Linked DNA regions of Homo sapiens: region 1 is linked to region 2. The links are contacts of gene promoters, found by promoter capture Hi-C in human tissues and cell types (Jung and others, 2019). All regions are on one chromosome and are shown on one strand. Each heading gives the region's core, a stretch centred on a gene start or on the middle of the fragment in contact. The rest is flanking DNA. Distances are from core to core; before and after follow the strand shown.

Region 1 (4,801 bases), core at 120-2,619, 1.8 Mb after region 2:
ATAAAATAATGTTTATTTAAAAATTTTAAAAAACTTACATAAAATTAGCTTTGGCAATAACTGTAAGTTTTGATATATGGCATTTATATTCTATGACTTTCCAGGTAATTTACCAGAGTATACTATTCCCTCTTATTTAGCAGAGTAGATTTAATTTCTAGTTAGTAGGGTTTTTAAAATCAAATTTTTAGTATTAGTAAAAATAAGCTGGTAGAAATGACTGTACAATTTCCACATTCTGGGACATGAGGTTTTCCTTTATGACCTAAACTCTGCTCCCCCTACACTTAATTCTGAAGCAATAAATGTGAAAAGCATCTTATTGGGGGTATAAAGAGGAACTATGGAAATGTGCTTACAATAACTATAGTTTTTCTTTAACACTTTGCTCATGGAAATACAGTTTTTTATTGAAACTTTGTTTTCTACTTACACAACAAACATCTAGAAAAGATCTTTAGAGTCTTTCATAACTGAAAATGTGAAAGTCTCACCAGCTGCTGCTCCACAGGTGGTGGCACTTCCTGGTTGGCATAAACAATGGCAGGATTGTAAAGACTGAACACCACAGGGTAAAACACCTTCTTACCTACAAATTAAAATATAGGTTTGTAACATAAAAAGAAGTTATGAAGAACTGTTCTTTATTGCAATATCTATTAAGTTTTATCAAAGTCTTATTATACATGATTTTATCTATTTTTTAATATTCAGGCTACAGAACATCATGTTAATTTGATGAATATGATGATTTTGTAACATATCAGTAGGTTAACTATAACCTTGCAAAAGAACAGAGGAAAAAACAAACTAAAGGGTGCTTCACGTTTATTCCCTTTGACTTTGGGGAGATGTGTATTCATTACGTGAGTCATTTATTACTCATTGTTTCATCTAATCAGTAGTAATAAACGTAGATTAACCTCTGATAATCACTATGAAACTTAGAAACGTCTGTTAAATCCACCTGTCAAAAATGAATCATTAGAAAGAGTAAATTCAAAGAATACTGTACAATGAATAGATATGCAGAGAATAATGAAAATATAGAATAAATCTGAACCAAAATCTGGAAAAGTCGGGAAGACAAGGGTTAAAATTACTTGATATAATAGCCCTTGGAGAAGACCTTGTCATCAGCATTCAAACTGACTGATCTAAAAGGACCATAAAGGCTAACTAGCCCATCTTCCCTCAGGAGACGCAACCCTTGCTATGGCTGGCTTCAATCAGATATGATCACATGAAGTGTTCAGTGATTGTCAGGAAGTGTGGGAGTAACATGGCAACCTTTTTATTACAAGATCCCTAGCAGATGCTCATTCTACCTTTGTTCAAATACATTTAGGGATGGGGAGTTCAATTTTCCAGAGGCAAATCTATTTCTGGATATAAAATATTTCTTTTAAACTAAGCAAATACGTCTCCTTCAACTTTCACATTTTGCATTTCATGCTGTAAAATAAACCTAACCTTCATTTATTCATTAGGTTCTCAAAGAGTTCCTGAAAACTATCTCTAACCTAATTAATAAGAAGGCAATCATTTGCATATGAATAGTTCTACATTAAAAAAACCCCATTTGCTATTAGATTCTTTAAAACATTTTTATTTTTATTTTTTAAGACGGAGTCTTGCTCTGTCACCCAGGCTGGCGATCTCAGCTCATTGCAACCTCCGTCTCCCAGGTTCAAGCAATTCTTCTGCCTCAGCCTCGCAAGTAGCTGGGATTACAGGAACAAGCCACCACGCCTGGCTAATTTTTAGTAGAGATGGGGTTTCACCATGTTGGCCAGGCTGGTATCGAACTCCCGACTGAGGTGATCCGCCTGCCTCGGCCTCCCAAAGTGCTGGGATTACAGGCATGAACCACCACGCCCAGCCTCTTTAATACTTTTAATTCTTTTAAATGAGCTAAAAAGCATTCAGCCACCATGCCTGGCCAAAAATTTTATTTTTAAAGACTAGGACTCACTATGTTGCCCAGGCTGGTCTTGAACTCCTGCACTCAAGTGCTCCTCCTGTCTCAGACTCCCAAGGTGCTGGGATTAAGGTGTGAGCTACTGTGCTCAGCAGCACCCCCCCACCCCAATGTTTTTCTAATTGACTAATAAAAATGGTGTACAACATTATGTTTTGCTACATTCATACACTACGAAATGACTAAATCAAGCTAATAAACATATATCATCACCTCACATAATTAACCTTTTTTTTTTTTGGTGGTAAGAACATTTTTTAATGCTACTACTGGCTTAGCAATTTGTAAGTATACAATACATTGTTATTAACTATAGTCACCATGTTTGTATAACAGATTTCCTCAACTTACTCATCCTGTTGAGATTCTTTAATACTTTTTTTTTTTGAGACAGAATGTCGCCCTGTCGCCCAGGCTGCAGTGCAGTGGCGCAATCTCAGCTCACTGCAAGCTCCGCCTCCTGGGCTCACGCCATTCTCCTGCCTCAGTCTCCTGAGGAGCTAGGACTACAGGCACCCACCACCACGACCGGATAATTTTTTTTGTATTTTTAGTAGAGACGGGGTTTCACTGTGTTAGCCAGGATGGTCTCCATCTCTTGACCTCGTGATCCGCCCGCCTCGGCCTCCCAAAGTGCTGGGATTACAGGCATGAGCCACCACCCCCAGCCTCTTTAATACTTTTAATTCTTTTAAATGAACTAAAAAGCATTTAAAATTTGATTTCAAAAAATGTCATCTTCTCATTAATTTTTTTTTTTTTTTTTGAGATGGAGTCTCACTCTGTCACCAGGCTGGAGTGCAGTGGCATGATCTTGGCTTACTGCAACCTTTGCCTCCCAGGTTCAAGCAATTCTTCTGCCTCAGCCACCCGAGTAGCTAGGACTACAGGCGTACGCCACCATGCCCAGCTAATTTTTGTATTTTTAGTAGAGACGGGATTTCACCATGTTGGCCAGGATGGTCTCAATCTCTTGACCTCATGATCCACCCGCCTAAGCCTCCCGAAGTACTGAGATTATAGGCGTGAGCCCCTGCACCTGGCTATCTCATTAATTTTCAAAAAATATCTACAACTTAAAGCAAAGTATAGTAAATCATCCCAAAATGCACAGTCTGGAGACCAAGCACTATCTGCATCTAGACTTCCATGTGAGTGTGTGTGCACACATGCATGGGGGTATTTTTGCATGTGTGGACGCTATATGCCCAAAGCTGAGTGCTTCAGACTCTCACACACATCTCCATACCATCTGCTTAGCTCTTTTTCTGACCTGCACTGCTCCCACCTCATCAATTTGTAGATACCCTGTTCCTCTGCATTTCCATATTTGGCTTCAAATGTAGTCACTGGAAGTTGGACCCAAGAGAACAAAGGATATGAATTTCAAAGGGTCAAATTTTCAATTTCCTATTTAGTATTCCAGTTAAATTATGCCTAATATAACTTAAAAAAATACTGGGGTTTAACTAAAACTTCTCCCTCAAAATCACTTGATTCAAACTATAGGACATGCTGACAACGTTCTAAATTCTATAGTCAGCTCATCTACCAACATTTTACGCACCTGGCTCAGCATTTAACCGGCAGCTGTTAAGGAATTCGGCTGAGAAATAGATATCAACATCACAGAAAAACATCAAGACCTCTCCCTTGTCCCAAGCTCGGGCACCCACATTTAGTCCTCGTCCACGATTAAATTCTTCATTCAATGAGACCAAGGTGTAATTGTGAAAATTAGACTCACTATGAGGAAAGCACACACAACAAATGATAAGTCCCACTTAAAGTTACCAATTTTCTTCCTTCAACACAGCTTACAAAATATGTTTTACACTTCAAATATTTGATTATATTGGTTCTACATTCACAAAGGGAAAGAAAATCCCAGCTTCATGTGTATGATTATCATCAGGGAGAGATATTCACCAAATGCCCAATTTGAGGCACATGTTGGTGGTATGAGGCTCCAAAAGTGTTAAAGTGGCCACTGACCTTTGGAATCTTAAACACCTTTTGGGGAGTTGAAAAATACACAAATGGAAAAATAGCTGTAATGTCTGTTAATAATGCATTCTAAATGGATAACACACACAAAGATCACTCTCCTCTTGCATCCGTTAGGTCTTTGCACACATGTCGCCTTATCAGAGGGATCCTCCCTAATACTACTTGAGAAGCAGCTGCCACCTCCCACTCCTTCATCTCCATCCTCTTCCTCAGCTGTTTTCCTTCATATTGCTAGACATATTTGTTCCAGTGTCTCTCCCACTCTGTGGGAGCAGGGATTTTGTTTTGTTCATTACTATGGATGCAGTGTCCCCTGATAGAGTAGGAGTTCAATAAATATTTGCTGAATGAATGAATGAACAGCAGTTCTGAAAAATACATCGCTCATGTCTGGAGTAGTTAGAGAAGATGTTAGAAGTGGAACGTGAGTTATGCCTTGGTTAAAATGTTGAATTCAGTGGTGAGTGTAAAGGTCATTCAAAATAATTATTCTCAAAGGCAAAGAGGTAAGAATGTAGAAAGCATTTTAGAGAAAAGGGATCAGACAAATCAGATTGGTAGAAAAGGACCCTAAAATGGGAACAGTGAGATAAGGGTCAACGGAATCTTAAAATGGGAACAATGAGAGAAGGGTCAGAGTGAAGAGTACCTCCCATGCAAGGTTAAAGAAATTGGTCAGTATCCTAAAGGCAAAGAGAATCAGCAGGACTTTTCTGCTAGGGCAGTGGTTCTCACAGTGAGGCCCCCAAACCCACAGCATCAGCTTCCTGTGTTAACATGTTAGAGAAGCAAACTCTCAGACTACAGCCA
Region 2 (4,458 bases), core at 1,148-3,647:
ATTAACTTGGCCTGTGATCCTAGCGTGTTGCGCCGTCTCTTGGGCATCAGTTTAGCCAGAGCTGTTGTGGCAGCTGATAGAGAGTCTTCAGGGCTCTTCCCAGCACTGCAGCTATGGGGCTCAATGACACCCCACCCCTGCTTCCCAAGGTCAGGCAGGGCAAAGGGAGGGGGTTCCGGGCCTCTTCCTCAACAGTATATCCTAGGGCAGAAGGTGGGACAGCCAGAAAAGGAGACCCCGGGAACTACAAGTTTCTCTTTTACAAAAATAAGAAAACTGTTGAAGCTTTAGGAAGTGCAGCCACTTCTTATTTGATTTTCTTTATTTTAAAACAATTTCCCCAAACATACTCTGTGAGAGAATAACCACCTAGCCTTTGCAAGGCTCTGGGTTTAAAGCTCTGCTCTGTGACTGCCTGGCTCTGTTACCTTAAGCAAGTCCAGTTCCCTCTCTGAACCTTGGGCTCCTCATCAATTAAATAACTATAATCCTCGATGACTTCTGTGAAGACGAATGAGGAGACCTGTAAGATGGGCCTTGTGTTGGGCTCACCCATAATGAAAAGAGGCTCCCATTACTATTCTTATTGACACTGGGAGTTGGGGGCTCTGGAGAGACTGTGGAGCCCCAGAGATGGGAATGTGAGGCCTGCCTGCAGGAGTGGCCATGAATGAGGAGAGAGTCTGAGCTGACACCTGAAACCAGGCCCCAGACCCCAGGGGCCCAGGGCAGAGGGCTTTCTGGCAGATCCCCTAGTTAGGTCTCCCCTTTGAGGCTTTGCACGTCCAGAATCTGAACTCTGACACACACCCAAGTTTCGTTCATGTTCTTTGTTATCTGTCATGGTCCACTTGGTCCTGACCCAGGGCGACCCTGGACCTTGATTCTGTTCTCGACCTCCAGGCTACCCACTGGAGCTTCATGGTGGAAATACAACCCAATCTCCTGAGTTTCAGACAGACACTTTAATCTGTAGCATCAACCTTTTTGTTGTCAAATCACCAGCACTACACACTGAGAGAATTATGGCTAGAACTAATGACAACAGCCTTCACATACACTGACAAAGTGCTGAAACAGCCCATGACAATTTCCGGCCAGCATTTTTTTAACCTAAGTTTAATGAGTTTCATCTCTCCTCTTCCCTCCCTTCCTCTTTCTCCTCTGACCCTCTCCCTTCCTGTCTTCTCCCCTAACCTGCTGTCCTGGCAGAAGTAGCTAAGGAACCACACAGAGGAACAGAAGGCAGGATGGTCTACATTTACCTGTTACTTCACCAATTCACTTCTAACTTAAAAAAAAATGGTTTCTGGCAACAAATCCTGATTGACACCTTAGTACTGTGGGCAGTTAAACTACAGCAAAGCCAGCGAGGGGCTCCTCTGTGAGTGCAAAGCATAGCTTTGGAGTCTAACCTGCTTGGGTTCAAATTCCAGAAGCCCAGCCCTTATTTGCTGTGCGACCTTATTTAATTCCTATGTGAAATGGGGCTCCTGAAGCTGTCCTTACTGTGTTTTAAGAAAGTGCTGGCCCTGGCCTGGGCACTGATTCTGGTGTGAGAGGAGGCCTCCCTCCCTCCGCCGTGCCAGGTTAATGAAAACACTGAGGCATGTTTTGGAAGTGGGAAGTGCAGGATGGGACCGGAGTCAGGAGCCCAGAAGAGCAGGGCAGCAGGCAGGCTGACCTTCGGAGACTAAGGGTGAAGAGCAAGAGACTCAGGGGCACAACAAGCCCTGGGTTCAAATCCTGGCTCCATCACCAACTCATCCGGTAAAGGTGGACAATTTTATAACTCTTTAAGCCTCAGTTTTCACATCTGAAAAGGGGATAACGAAAGTAGGACTCTCACTTGCTGTGAGGAGTAAGAGGCATATCGTGTTAAAGCACTTGGCCCAGAGCAAGGCGAGCCCTCTACAGACAGCGATTGTGAGACAGACCCCCCCTGCTGCTATTATCTTGGCGTTCGATTTCCATCAGTGAAATCAGAGTTGTGCCAGAGGCCTCTAGGCTCTCTCCCCAACTCTAGGATCAGTGCTTCTAGGAAACTGGTTAAGGACAAGGTGAACAAAAAAGGTGTAGCCAGTGGCCGGGCTCATCTGTCTTGCTCAGGTTGTAGCCCCTAAATTGCTTAACAGAGGTGCCAGGCGCAGTGCCCCCTCTCAGCAATGAGCCCGAGGCCCGCAATGCGCCAGGCTGGCGGGGGAGGGACCCTGCGCGCTGCGGCCGAAGGGCACAAGTGCCCAGGCTTCAGCGTCCCTGCCTGGTGGCAGTCCTGGGTCGGAGGGGATGCTCCATGGACGCCCAAGCACTCTCCTGCTCGTTCATCACTCACCGTCCAGTCATCGCGCAGTCCAGAAGCCACTGCATGTGTCGTGTCCTCGCTTGCACCGGAGCTGCGCCCGCAGCGCCTGCTGACCCCAGGCTTCAGCTGCTCGGGGCCAGGCCCGCCCCTCGCCCCGCCCCTCGCCCCTCGCCCCGCCCCGCTCCCCGCCTCTCGCCCGGCACGGCCAAAGGTGCCGCCCCGGTCTCTCCGTCCCGCCCCGAGCACGCCCCTCACTCCGCACCGGCCAATGGCACCGCCCCGTCCGCCCCGCTCTGGGAACGCCGGTAGGTTCCGGGTGCAGGGCGGTGGCCTAGGGGCGGCGGGGAAGATTTGGGGCCTGCGACCTGCCAGGTGTCCCCAGGCCATTGTTCAGCTCGCCGCGCGCTCCCGAGTTCCCGAGGGCGCCCCGGGACGCGAGGAGAAAGCAGCCCGACTCAGCCCCGAGAGGTTCGGTGTGCGGGCAGCGGCCAGGGACTTTGCGGGGTAGCGCGGACTCCTGGACTTCCAACAAGGGCCGCTGCGCAGGCGCTGCAATCACTGCAGGCACTTGTCTGCATGCCTGGTGGGGCTTGGAGTCTGGGGAGGCTTATCAGTAAAGCCCAGAGCATTTGCTATTTATTGCTCAAGGGGCACCTTTGTACAGTCTGGCCGTTTGCTTGGCATGGCCTCTTAGAACTCCTTATTGTTTAAGAAATCCGATCTGGTGAATAAGAAGTTAGTCTTTCTCTCCCAGTCACTGCCTCCTGGACGAATATTTGCCAGCACGGAGGCAGAGAGGACAGAAAACCACAAGCCATTTGGGGAACTGGGAACAGTTCAGTGTTTCTGGGGTGTGGGGGTGTCAAGGTGGGGGATGGGGTTGATGGAAAACATTTGCAATTTCTGCTTTACCTCACGATTCCCAGCTCTGACCTCTGGACCTGTTCTCTCCCACCCCTAACATAAATCATTTTAGTTTCATTCAGTGTGCGTTTCCTAATATTTTTAGGGTCTCATGGCCATTTTAGAATCTGATATGGATCTTCTAGAAAGTGCAGGTGGCCATATGCACCAAAATCAGCCTGGGATTTGAGTCTCATGGGTCCCTGAACTTCGACTTAGAGGGGCTGTGCTAATGCTTGTATGGCTGCTGTATGACTTATGTTGGAACCCCCACCTGCAAAAAGTGACAGGACTGAAGATACCCAGTCCAGGGGCCCTCCCGTTTCTGCGTTTGCTTGAATTTTTGGAGAATGGCCCATCCTTTGACAGCTCTGAGGCTCCCTGTGGTTGGTGACTTGTCATGACACATTTGCTCTTCCACAGCCCTCATCAAAGCTGAGACAAATAATCGGGTGCTTCCAAAGGTTTTTTAAAAGTGGGTAAAATTCAATATAACTGTCAACCTCTGAGCATGAGATCCTAAGAATTTAATCACTCCTGATAGGAGAAGTAAACATAGCACCAGGGTGACATAACAGTTTCCCTGGGCTCTCCAGAACTCGAGTGTGAATCATTCTCTCTGACCTAATTAATGCTGTTCACAGGGCCATGACTGGCTCTGAGTGAGGACTGGGTTTGGGACAGCAACCCCATGTGTCCTGTGCACCCATTGTGGGCTCAGACACTATGCTAGTGCTTTACATTGGGGATCCCATGCAATTCCCCCAGCACTCCTGGGCAGTTGGTGTTACTGCTTGCATTTTTTAAAATTTCCATTTTTATTTTAAATTTAGGGGATACACGTGCGGGTTTGTTACAATTGTACATTGTGTGGTACTGAGGTTTGGGATTGATCCTGTCACCCAGATGGTGAGCATAGTACCCAATAGGAAGTTTTTCACCCCTCGCCCCGCTGTCTCCCTCCCACTTTTGAAGTCCCCAGTGTCTATTGTTTTTATCTTTATGTCTAGGTGAACCCGATATTTAGCTCTTTTGCTTGTAAGCGAGAACATGTGGTGTTTGCTTTTCTATTTCTGCATTAGTTCGCTTAGGATAATGGCATCCAGCCACATCCATCCTGCTGCAAAGGACACGATTTTATTCTCTTTTATGGCTGTGAGTGCTTGCATTTTACATCAGACACAGGTGTCCATTGTCAGCGTCCTCCCCTCAGAAGGGGAGGGTCCATTGTCAGACCCCTCAGAAGGAGGGGT

Evidence for each region. The method cuts DNA at HindIII sites, captures the fragments that hold promoters and counts their contacts. A contact is called where the count stands out against the background at its distance.
Region 1: a fragment that was not itself captured here is called in contact with the fragment with the promoter of RASSF4 in region 2 in 1 of the 25 tissues and cell types used here (dorsolateral prefrontal cortex).

Annotation. Positions count from the first base shown.
Region 1 is chr10:43,162,792-43,167,592 of GRCh38, reverse strand. CSGALNACT2 (chondroitin sulfate N-acetylgalactosaminyltransferase 2) reads right to left here. Exons shown (of 8, transcript NM_018590.5): 5 at 3,549-3,727; 6 at 495-589. Among named protein-coding and RNA genes, the nearest start is that of CSGALNACT2, 27 kb to the right of the region's middle. The HindIII fragment of the contact is 4,073 bases long and covers 1-3,405 here.
Region 2 is chr10:44,957,741-44,962,198 of GRCh38, reverse strand. It overlaps RASSF4 (Ras association domain family member 4), which reads right to left and starts at 2,397. Exons shown (of 11, transcript NM_032023.4): 1 at 2,333-2,397. It overlaps TMEM72-AS1 (TMEM72 antisense RNA 1), which reads left to right and starts at 2,510. Exons shown (of 8, transcript NR_033842.1): 1 at 2,510-2,607. RefSeq lists a silencer at 2,427-2,646 and an enhancer at 2,424-2,718. The HindIII fragment of the contact is 12,479 bases long and covers 29-4,458 here.